2 separate regions of the Homo sapiens genome follow, and region 1 is linked to region 2. Evidence: promoter capture Hi-C in human tissues and cell types (Jung and others, 2019). All regions are on one chromosome and are shown on one strand. The core of a region is centred on a gene start or on the middle of the fragment in contact, and the rest is flanking DNA. Distances in the headings are between cores, read along the strand shown. Region 1 has its middle 6.0 kb from the start of NANOS2. Region 2 holds the start of IGFL3 (IGF like family member 3).

Region 1 (5,124 bases), core at 464-2,963, 220 kb before region 2:
GTGCTAGGATTATAGGCATGAGCCACTGTGCCTGGCGAAGGGCCACATTTTCAAAACTGTGAGTTGTGAGTCCTTTTTTTTTTTTTTTTTTGAGACAGAGACTTGCTCTATGACCCAGACTGGAGTGCAGTGGTACAATCATGCAATCATGACTCAAACTTCCAGGCTCACCCTCCCACCTCAGCCTCTAGAGTAGCTGGAACTACAGGCACACACCATCATGCCCGGCTAAGTTTTAAAATTTTTTGTAGAGACAAGATCCCACTGTGTTGCCTAGGCTGGTCCCAAATTCCTGGGCTTGAGCAATCCTCTGTGAGGCCTCAGCCTCCAAGAGTGTTGGGATTACAGGCGTGAGCCACTGAGTCCAGCCAAAACTGTGAATCTTGACCCATTAGTGAGTCCAGGAAAATACTTAGGAAGTTGCAAGGAGAGATATTTAGGAGGAAGAATGGACAGGACTTGGAACCTGATGGGCTGTGAGGGGTGAGGGAAAAAGCCTAGATCTCTGGCCCTGGAGACAGGGTACATTACATGGTAGGGCCGGCCAAGATGGGGACTTGAGGGGTAGCAGATGTGGGGGTAAGATGCTGAAGTGGTTTGGGATGTGGTGGGTATGAAAGGCCTGGGGAGGTTTGGGGAATGAGGAAGAGCATCCAGGAACCCATCAGGTATGTGGAAGAGGGCTGGAGGCAGAGGCGGAGTGGAAGCTAAATTTTTGTTTTGTTTTGTGTTGTTTTAATGCTAAAAGAAATGGATGCAACAAGCATATCAAGTGCTGCCCTAGGGCTGGGCCTGGTTGCTCATGCCTGTAATCCCAGCACTTTGGGAGGCTGAGGTAGGAGGATTGCTTGAGGCCAGGAGTTCAGGCTGCAGCGAGCTATTATCTTGCCACTGCACTCCAGCCTGGACGACAGAGCGAGACTCTGTCTTTTCTTTTCTTCTTTTTTTTTTTTTAATTTAAAAGATAGAGATGAGGTCCTGCTACATCACCCAGGCTGGTTTTGAACTCCTGGGCTCAAGTGATCCTACTGCCTCAGCCTCCCAAAATGCTGGGATTACAGGTGCGAGCCACTGCACTGGCTGATACCCTGTCTTAAAAAAAAAGAAGGGGCCAGGTATGGTGGCTCATGCCTGTAATCCCAGCACTTTGGAAGGCTGAGGCGGGTGGATGATGAGGTCAGGAGTTCGAGACCAGCCTGGCCAACATGGTGAACCCCCGTCTCTACGAAAAATACACAATTAGCCGGGTGTGGTGGTGCACGCCTATAATCCCAGCTACTTGGGAGGTGGAGGCAGGAGAATCGCTTGAACCAGAGCGGAGGTTGCAGTGAGCTGAGATGGTGCCACTGCACTCTAGCCCGGCAACAAGAGCGAAACTCTGTCTCAAAAAAAAAGAAAAAAAAAAGTGCTGGCCGTAGGCACCTGGGATACAGCAGTGAATAAAATACTGAACTCCACTCTCAGAGCTTCCTTTCTAGCTGGGGATGGTGGATGGACAGGAAGTAGCTCACTTCAATCAGGGATAACACGGAGGAACAGAGCCAGTAGGGGGTATGTATGAAGTGATCTGTTGCAAGGAATTGGCTTACAGGATTGTAGGGCCGGCTAAGCAACTTCAAAATCCATACACAGGGCACCATCGGAAAGTGCAGGCTGGAGCTTTGGGCGTGAACTGAAGCCACTGTCTACAGGCGGAATTTCCTCAGGGAAGCTTCGGCTCTGCTCTGAAAACCTTTTGACTGATTGCAGCAGGCCCACTTAGATTATTATTATTATTTATAGAGACGGAGTCTTGCTCTGTCGCCCAGGTTGGAGTTCAGTGGCACGATTTCAGCTCACTGCCAACCTCCGCTGCCCCAGTTCAAGCAATTCTCCTGCCTCAGCCTCCCGAGTAGCTGGGACTACAGGCGCCCACCACCATGCCCAGCTAATTTTTTTGTATTTTTAGTAGAGACGGGGTTTCACCATGTTGGTCAGGCTGGTCTCGAACTCCTGACCTCAGATGATCCGCCTGCCTCGGCCTCCCAAAGTGTTGGGATTACAGGCGTGAGCCACTGCACTGGCCTATTATTATTATTATTACTCGAGACAGAGTCTCACTCTGTCACCCAGGCTGGAGTGCAGTGGTGCGATCTTGGCTCACTGCAACCTCCACCTCCCGGGTTCAGGTGACTCTCCTGCCTCAGCCTTCCGAGTAGCTGGGACTATAGGTGCATGCTACCATGCCTGGCTGATTTTTGTATTTTTAGTAGAGACAGGGTTTCACTATGTTGGCCAGTCTGGTCTTGAACTCCTGACTTCAGGGGATCCACCTGCCTTAGCCTCCGAAAGTGCTGGGATTACAGGTATGAGCCACCGCCCCCTCAGATTATCTAGGATAAATTTCCTTCCTTAAGGTAAACTAATTATAGTCTTTAATCACATCTATGAGATATCTTCACAGCAGCAGCTGGATTCATATTTGACTGAATGACTGGGGACAGCGGTCTAGACAAGCTGACATGTGAAACTGACCATTGCAACCAGAGACATAATAAACAACTCAGCCATGTGGCATGTTAGATGGTGGTAAGTGCTAAGGAGGTAAGAAAAGTAGAGATGGGTTGGAGGGATCAGGAATATGTGGGTGGGAAGGCCTCGGGGAGGTGGCGGCCTTTGAGCAAAGGCTTGCAAGAAGTGGCAGAGTAGGCCATGTGAGTATCTGGTCCAAGAGCTGTCCAAGGAGCCGGAAGGGTGAGTGCAAAGGCCTCGAGGCCAGAATGTTCCAGAAGTGTTCGGGGAACAGCTTAGAGGCCAAAGTGGCTGGAGAAGACTGAGCAAACGGGAGAGGGTGGGAAAAGAGCCAGACTTGGGTGAGAGGCAGATTGTGTGGGGCCTTGTGGGCTGAGATGAGGATTTTGGCTTTTAGTCAGAGTGAGACAGTGACCACAGGAGGGCTCTGAGCAGAGGAGGGAGATGAGCTGGCTTGTGTTTTAATGGGATCACTTTTGTTGGGTTTTGAAAATATACTCTTGGCTGGGCACAGTGGCTCACACCTGTAATCCCAACACTTTGGGAGGCCGAGGCAGGTGGATCACTTGAGGTCAGGAGTTTGAGACCAGCCTGGTCAACATGGCAAAACCCCATCTCTACTAAAAATACAAAAATTAGCCAGGCGTGATAGCGGTCACCCGGAATCCCAGTTACTCGGGAGCCTGAGGCAGGAGACTTGCTTGAACCTGGGAGATGGAGGTTGCAGTGGGCCGAGATCATGCTACTGCATTCCAGCCTGGGAGACTGAGTGAGACTCCATCTCAAAAAAAAAAAAAGAGAGAAAGAAAATAAAATATACTTTTTTTTTTTTTGAGACAGTCTCCCTCTGTTGCTCAGGATGGAGTGCAGTGGCGCCTTCTTGGCTCACTGCAACCTGCGCCTCCCAGGCTCAAAGATTCTTGTGCCTCAGCCTCCCAGGTAGCTGGGATTACAGGTGTGCACCATCATGCCTGGCTAATTTTTGATTTTTAGCAGAGACGGGGTTTCGCCATGTTGACCAGGCTGGTCTTGAACTCCTGGCCTCAACTGATCCACCTGCCTCGGCCTCCCAAAGTGCTGGGATTATAGGAATGAGACACTGTGCCCAGCCTGAAAATATACCCTTAGGGGTTGAGAGTAGAAGCAGGAAGATCATTGAGGAGGTGACTGCAGTACTCTGGGTGAGAGGTGGTGGGGCATTGGAAGGTAGTGTGCTGGAGAAGAGATGGTCAGATTTGGGATGGATGTTGAAGCTAGAGCCAAGAGGATTTCCTAATGAATGTGAGATTTCTGTTTTGGACTGGATAAGGAGGAGGGAAGGAAAGAAGGGAAGGAAGGAAGGAATGTGGGGAGGGAGAAAGGAGAAAGAAAGGAGGGCGGAAGAAGAAGGCAAAAACGACAGATGGAGAGACACGTTAAGAGAGAATCTGGATCGGGCACAGTGGCTCATGTGTGTAATCCCAGCACTTTGTGAGGCCTAGGAGGGAAGATTGTTTGAGGCCAGGAGTTCGAGGCTGCTGTGAGCTATGACCACTCCACTGCATTCCAGCCTGGGTGACAGAGCAAGACTTTTTGCGGGAGGGCAGAGAGAAGGAGAAACTGAATGATAAACCTAAAAGTGATCTCTCAACATTCTTAGTACAAATTAAAAATAAAGACTTTTGTTAATAGTGCGATCTTGGCTGGGTGCAGTGGCTCACTCCTGTAATCCCAGCATTTTGGGAGGCCTAGGCAGGTAGATCATTTGAGGTCAGGAGTTCGAGACCAGCCTGGGCAACATGATGAAACCCCATCTCTACTAAAAATACAAAAATTAGCTGGGCGTGGTGGCGCATGCCTGTAGTCCCAGTTACTTGGTAAGCTGGGCAGGCAGGAGAATTGCTTGAACTCGGGAGGTGGATGTTGCAGTGAGCCGAGATCATGCCACTGCACTCCAGCCTGGGTGACAGACTGAGACTCTGTCCCAAAAAAAAAAAAAAAAAAAAAAGTGCAATCTTTTCCCTTCCTTTGTATAAAATTCTCTAGAATGGGCCAGATACTGGTTAGCATTGGAAATAGGCTCTAATCTATGGTCACCACTCACCAGAACCCCTGGAACCCCACGTGTGCACAAATCCAGTTTCAGAGACCAACACAGTGGTAGGCACTCTTGGCCACTGTGGGAGTGTGAGGTGCAGAGACAAAGCCTTGGCCTTATATACTTCAGAGCACACTGGGGACTCTGTGAGGCTCTAGGTCTATCCTTAGTGGATCTAATTTTCCTGCCCTGGTTCTTTGTGGGTGTAGAACTATTCCCCTACTCTCTCTCCTAAGCCCAAAGTGGTGCTGGAGGGAAGAGGCCGTTCTGAAGCATTTGCTTCTCTGCATGGAGTCTCCCTGCTGTCTTCTCTGATTTCCTCAGGGGTGGGCGAGATGGTGTCTGATGCACACGGGCGCCACGCACAAGTCTCCAGTGGCCCCTGCATGCCCACTCTGCCTCTTTGTATCTTCTCTGAGCCCAGGAGGCTGCCCTGTGTGCTCTCCATCTGCCTGCCTGCCTGGTCTCAGGTTCATGGGAGGTAACTGCAGGAATGGGGCAGATGCAGGAGAATGACCAGCTGTCCTGCACCTGGC
Region 2 (5,610 bases), core at 764-3,263:
GTCAGACAACTTACTGTTGCATGGAAAAATGCCCCAAAAAACTGCAATGGTTTACATACATTTTACATTACACGTATTACCTCTTAAAACCCCCAACAGAATAAAGTCTTAGCAAACACAAATTTTAATTTCTGAACACCCTTCCAGTAAGATTGTAAAGGTGGGAGGAAGGGGAGGAAGGACTTGTTTTTTGTATTCCTAGTCTACTTGATTAAAATGTAATCTTCCAAGGGTTTGTTTAGCTCACTATCCAGACTGCTAGGGTTATGATGAACATTATTACTTCTTTCCAGGGTAAAAAAAATGACATTTGAAAATAATGTAAATGCTATGACATGATTTTCCCAAGCATGACCTCAACTTGAAACATTAGATTACTTAAGAATTCTAAAGATTGGTATACCACCACTGCACCAGAATTTTTAATTATTCCAACAGCTACAGGAATTTTTTAATAGTTTTTTTAATTTTATGAACTTAAAGCTGAAGAAAATAACCGATTTAGAAACCATAATAAAAGGACAGATATTTAGCCAGAGATATCAGTTCCTCCTGAAAAAGGATACTGACCTCCTCTCACTGCAGTTTTTCTCCAGGTATCTTACTGATTTCAGATAGAATTTAAAATTCATCTTAAAAATAGAAACAAAAGGACTACTTAAACTGACATTAACTAATAAAAATATGCTCAAATTTACTGACAGAATCATGGACACTTCATACAATACTTAGACTCTACCAGTTTTAAGTAAAGTAAGGAAAAAATTATAATTACAAAGCCAGTCTTTCCCCTTGGGGAAACAAAAAAGCCACTTTTGACCAATTGTTCCCTGCATATACATATACTGTATATTATTATAAGCTTCTTCAGAGAAGCAAAACATCTTTGTCTTCCTGACACTGGATTATTTAGCATGTTTTTTTACATCAGGAAGGCAACTGCACTGCTTGCATTTTTCTACCAGCTGAGTGTCTGGTGATAGCTGGGTGCAAGAAGATTGTGAGTTATTTATGCAGGAGGACTGTTTGTCCTCGACCATGAAGAAAGGCAGACTTATAGCTTATCTGCTTCTTCTTTTTGCTTTCCCCTGCTGCCACCAGCCTGACTCTTTTGCCGTTAGAACTCCACAAACAGGAGTTCCTCTTCAAGCCCTCTGTATCCCTCATCCCTCCCTCATTCCTTTAGTTAAGAGCAAGGTAGGGACCTTTACCTGGTACAGCTCCGGGAGATGGGAGATAAGTGACACTGAGACTTCATACCCAGAACCCTCAACTTCACAAGAAACTTCTGCTGGGGGCCAAAAGACTCGGGACAGCAGAGCTCAAAGCAGGGCCAGAAGGTGCAGGTGGAGCCACAGCGGCGGGTCTCCTTTAAGGATAAGATGGCATCATCATAACAGCACTGCTCTGAAGGGTTGTAGATCTTGTTCCCACACCTGGGTGTCGGCTGGCACAGCCACAGTCCTGAGCCAACAGGAGCGTCTGGGGGCAGACATTGATGGTGTACATCCAAGGAAGAACAGATACTCAATTCCCAGTCTCTTTTCCCAACACCACCTCTTCCCTCCTCATTTTTCCCTGTCCTGTCCTTACCTGTAGTTCCTTTTGAACACTGGAGGAGGAAGACTGTTATCCAGCAGACAAGAGCTAAGGGAGAAAGGAAAAAGGTTGAACATGGAGCTGAGAATGTGACAAGTATGGAAAAAACAAACAAACAAACAAACAGAGGTTAGGGTGGTTTAAAGGTGGAGATTATCACTTGGGGCTAAGTCTGTATGGGATCCCGTTCAGGCAGGCCCTGAGCAGCACGCTCAGTCACCCTTTGAGGTGACTAGTAGGGCACAGGAGGCTGGAATAATGTTAGAGATAAAGAGGAATAAATCGGGTTGAGGTTTGGGAGCTGCACTGGGAATGAGATGAGATGATGTTTGGATTTGGGGTCCTACTTGCCCAAGATGCAGCATCGTGGCCTCATGCTTCCAAAGATGCTCTAGGAGAATTGAAGAAGAGTGGTAAAAGGCTGGAACTTATGGAGACAGCCTAAATGGGGTTGTCTGTTAACCTGGTAAGTTTACTGATTGGATGGCTGCTGATCATGCCACCTGCAGTCTCCCAAGCACATTCCTTGAAGATAACCAAAGTCTCCCAAGCACATTCATTAGTTTCTTTAAGGAGGAGACTGGGTGGCGTAAGGGACCACAGAGCCGAATGTTGCAGACTGACTCATTGCATTCTCCATATACTATTGCAGACCTCAGGGTGAATGAGTGTAGGTTGGTCCTACTCCAAGTTAGGCTTCTAAGAGTTTTCAAGCTCCGACATTGAGGAGACAGTGCCCAACTAAGCTCCAATCAGAGAGAATGCTTCAGCCACTTCCCCATCTGGTTTCACATCCTCCCCTTCCTAATACTTGCTTCTTCTATATTCCCCAAGCACGATGTCTCTGGAAATGTCAAGGGGACCGTTTATGAAGCCACTTTATTTTTTGCTCTGGAGTCATTAGAGTTGCCACCTGCTCTAGCAGTTGAGCCACGGCTCTGGAAACTCCAATAAAGGGGGTAGGGGTGGAGAATAGCAATGGCCCAAATCTCCTGGTGTGCTTGGTGTGAGGATTCAGAGACCTCCAGCATCTTAGTTACATGGTCAGGGAAAGTACTAAACACCTGCTTTTCATAATCATATTATATTAGTGGCCAATGATAAGTGATGTAGTACTTAGGAGTGTGTAGTACTTAGGTGTGCAGACAGAGGGAAGGGCAGGGCAAACTGAGGCCTGCCAGGCAAGTGCCAGCTAGGGAAGGGCTTGGACAAATTCAAATAATCCCGAAGCTGTGGAAAGGACCTCAGTCTTCATGGATGTGTGATGATTCAATCAGAAAATGTCTAAGGATTGGCCAGACTTTCCATCCTCCACTTGCTGGCACAGCATAGGGAAGAGTTGCTGACTTAAGTTCATCCAGCCTGTACCATAGCCTTTGAAATGGTTCTCCTTTTCTGAGCTTCATTCTTAGCTTCCTGTACATGTGCGGAGGTGTGGGGTGTGGTTTGGATGCACAAGGCTGCTCTCCCCTACCCCGGAACCTAAGAAGGCCAACAATGTGAAGATTCCTAGTGAGCCCAGGCTGTCAGCTTGTTTACTACCAAATGTTAAAAAGAAACGTTTGAGTTTGATTAGGTAAAATACAAAGGACAAATAATAATATCTTTAATATACAATTATCATTCTTATTCCAAATGAAACTTCAGCTTTACTATTGGGCATTGGGAAGTTAATGTGTACTTAATTTTTCATCTTACAGAAGTGGCAAGGGGCAGCTTGAAGGGATAATTTTTAATGCATTTTATAATGATAATCATTTAGAGAAATCCTTATGTTGTATCTCATTAACACTAAGATGTTATTGAAAGATACACTGTTGTTTTGCAACTCTAAGATGCAATCTCATCACTTAGAATGTTTATTAACAGAGCTTCTTGCAACATGTTGAGACGTAGACTTTTGGAAGGCGAATAGAAAAATAAAAATATATGGGAAATAAATCTGTTAAAGATTTCTTAAAATGTCTCCACATTTGGAGACTGCCTCCTGTGAATCATCTTTCAACCCCAGATTGGTTCCTGTGCTTTCTTACACAACATCATTCTCAGTTCTACCAACAGCATTGGTCATGCAAAGTTTGGTTTTATTCTAAGCTGCTGACACCCATACTGCAAGTTATCATTGAACTGGTGACACTAGCCCCTTCTTTCTTTGAATTTTCTTTCATCTATTCCTAGAGATTTTGACAACTCCTTCTGCCTTTCATTATGTTGTTTTCCTTGTGCTAGGCAATCCTTCTGTGCCTGTCTCAGAAACAAAATGTGATACTCTTCATCTCTTTATCTTCTTGTGCCCCATAAAGCACTTGGTTGTTGATCTGCAAGAAAATATGTACTTGGGTTCATTCCTAAAACAATGAGCATGTGCTTCATTAACAGTAAATTTACGTCATCGTCTTCTATTAATGTGTCATTCTGCACACACAACACACAAGCCAAATCATGGTGTTTTCTGATATTTAAAATGACAGTTACACTCAACACATGAAACATAAGCAATCCACACAACTTAATTGAAGTGTCAAGAATATTAACCTGAAGACTTAGTTCGTCCCTGTACAACTGGCAGCAGCTATGTCACTCTGCTTGTCTGATAGCTATTGCAAGACCCTATTGATGATACGATGCATCACTAGTTCAAGGGTATGGGAATGTAGAATATATATGTACATCTCTGAGTGGAGGAGAGTCATTCCAATTTGAAACTTAGTATATTTATGAGGATCAGATGAAGACACACTTGAAAAGCTCCCAGCACAGTAGCTGGAGTGTGTCAAGCTTTTCGTATTTTCTCTCCTCAACTGTGCTTTCTTAAGAAAGCTGCAAAATAGTCTGGGCACAGTGGCTGACACCTGTAATCCTGGCACTTTGGGAGGCTGAGGTGGGAGAACAGCTTAAAGCCAGGAGTTCAAGACCAGCCTGGGCAACAAAGCGAGACCCTGTCTGTACCAGAAAACAAAAATAAAATTAGTTGGGCATGGTGGTACATGCCTGCAGTCCCAGCTACTCGGAAGGCTGTGGTGAGCTGTGATGGCACCACTGTAATCCAGCCTGGGTGACTGAGTGAGATGCTGTTGCAAAGAAAGAAGAAGGAAGGAAGGAGAGAAAGAGAATAAGAAAGAAAGAACAAAATATACACATCTTGTTCCATGAACTATTGACAATTTAGGTCATAGGCAATCATTCTTAGTCTAAATTTTCTTGAAGGAAGAAATAACTTTCTGTCTGGCACTAAGTTTCAACATAATTTAGGTCCCGGACAATTTTTGCTGATTTAATGAAAATTATCAATCCTCCCAGAAAATTGTTCTTAAACGGATGTATAGGTAGATAGGTAAGATGTATAGGTAGGTAGGTAGGTGGGTAGATAGGTAGGTAGGTAGATAGATAGATGATGGATGGATGGGTGGTTGGATATTAGATAGATGTTAGATTGATAGACAACAGACAGACTGCATGCAATTTCTTTTTTTTTAGAGTCACTAATTTTACTTTTTTAAAATGTTAAAAAATCTACTTTTAATTTTTTCGTAAGTTATTGGGGTACAGGTGGTATTTGGTTACTTGAGCAAAGGAGCCACTGGCCACAGAAGTTTCTGGTTGGTGAAGCGACACCCCAAGGATCCCATAACACTTTGGGAAGTATGGCCATTTTTAACAATATTGATTCTTCCTATCCATGAGCATGGAATGTTTTCCCACTTTTTTGTGTCATCTCTGATTTGTTTGAGCATTATTTTGTAGTTCTCCTTGTAGAGATCTTTCACCTCCCTGGTTAGCTATATTCCTAGGTATTTTACTCTTTTTGTGGCAATTGTGAATGGGAATTGCAGTCCTGATTTGGCTTTACTGTTGTTGGTGTATGGGAATGCTAGTGATTTTTGTACATTGTACAAAAAATGTACATTTGTACATTGATTTTATATCCTGCAACTTCGCTGAAGTTGCTTATCAGCTGAAGGAGCTTTTGTGGAGACTGTAGGGTTTTCTAGATACAGGATCATGTCATCT

What was found. The method cuts DNA at HindIII sites, captures the fragments that hold promoters and counts their contacts. A contact is called where the count stands out against the background at its distance.
Region 1: a fragment that was not itself captured here is called in contact with the fragment with the promoter of IGFL3 in region 2 in 2 of the 25 tissues and cell types used here (hippocampus and mesenchymal stem cells).

The regions. Positions count from the first base shown.
Region 1 is chr19:45,906,261-45,911,384 of GRCh38, forward strand. No RefSeq gene overlaps it. Among named protein-coding and RNA genes, the nearest start is that of NANOS2, 6.0 kb to the right of the region's middle. The HindIII fragment of the contact is 7,651 bases long and covers 1-5,124 here.
Region 2 is chr19:46,122,675-46,128,284 of GRCh38, forward strand. IGFL3 (IGF like family member 3) reads right to left here and starts at 2,014. Exons shown (of 4, transcript NM_207393.2): 1 at 1,951-2,014; 2 at 1,594-1,647; 3 at 1,212-1,482. The coding sequence starts at 1,975. It also overlaps a transcript of IGFL2 not described here. The HindIII fragment of the contact is 6,445 bases long and covers 1-5,251 here.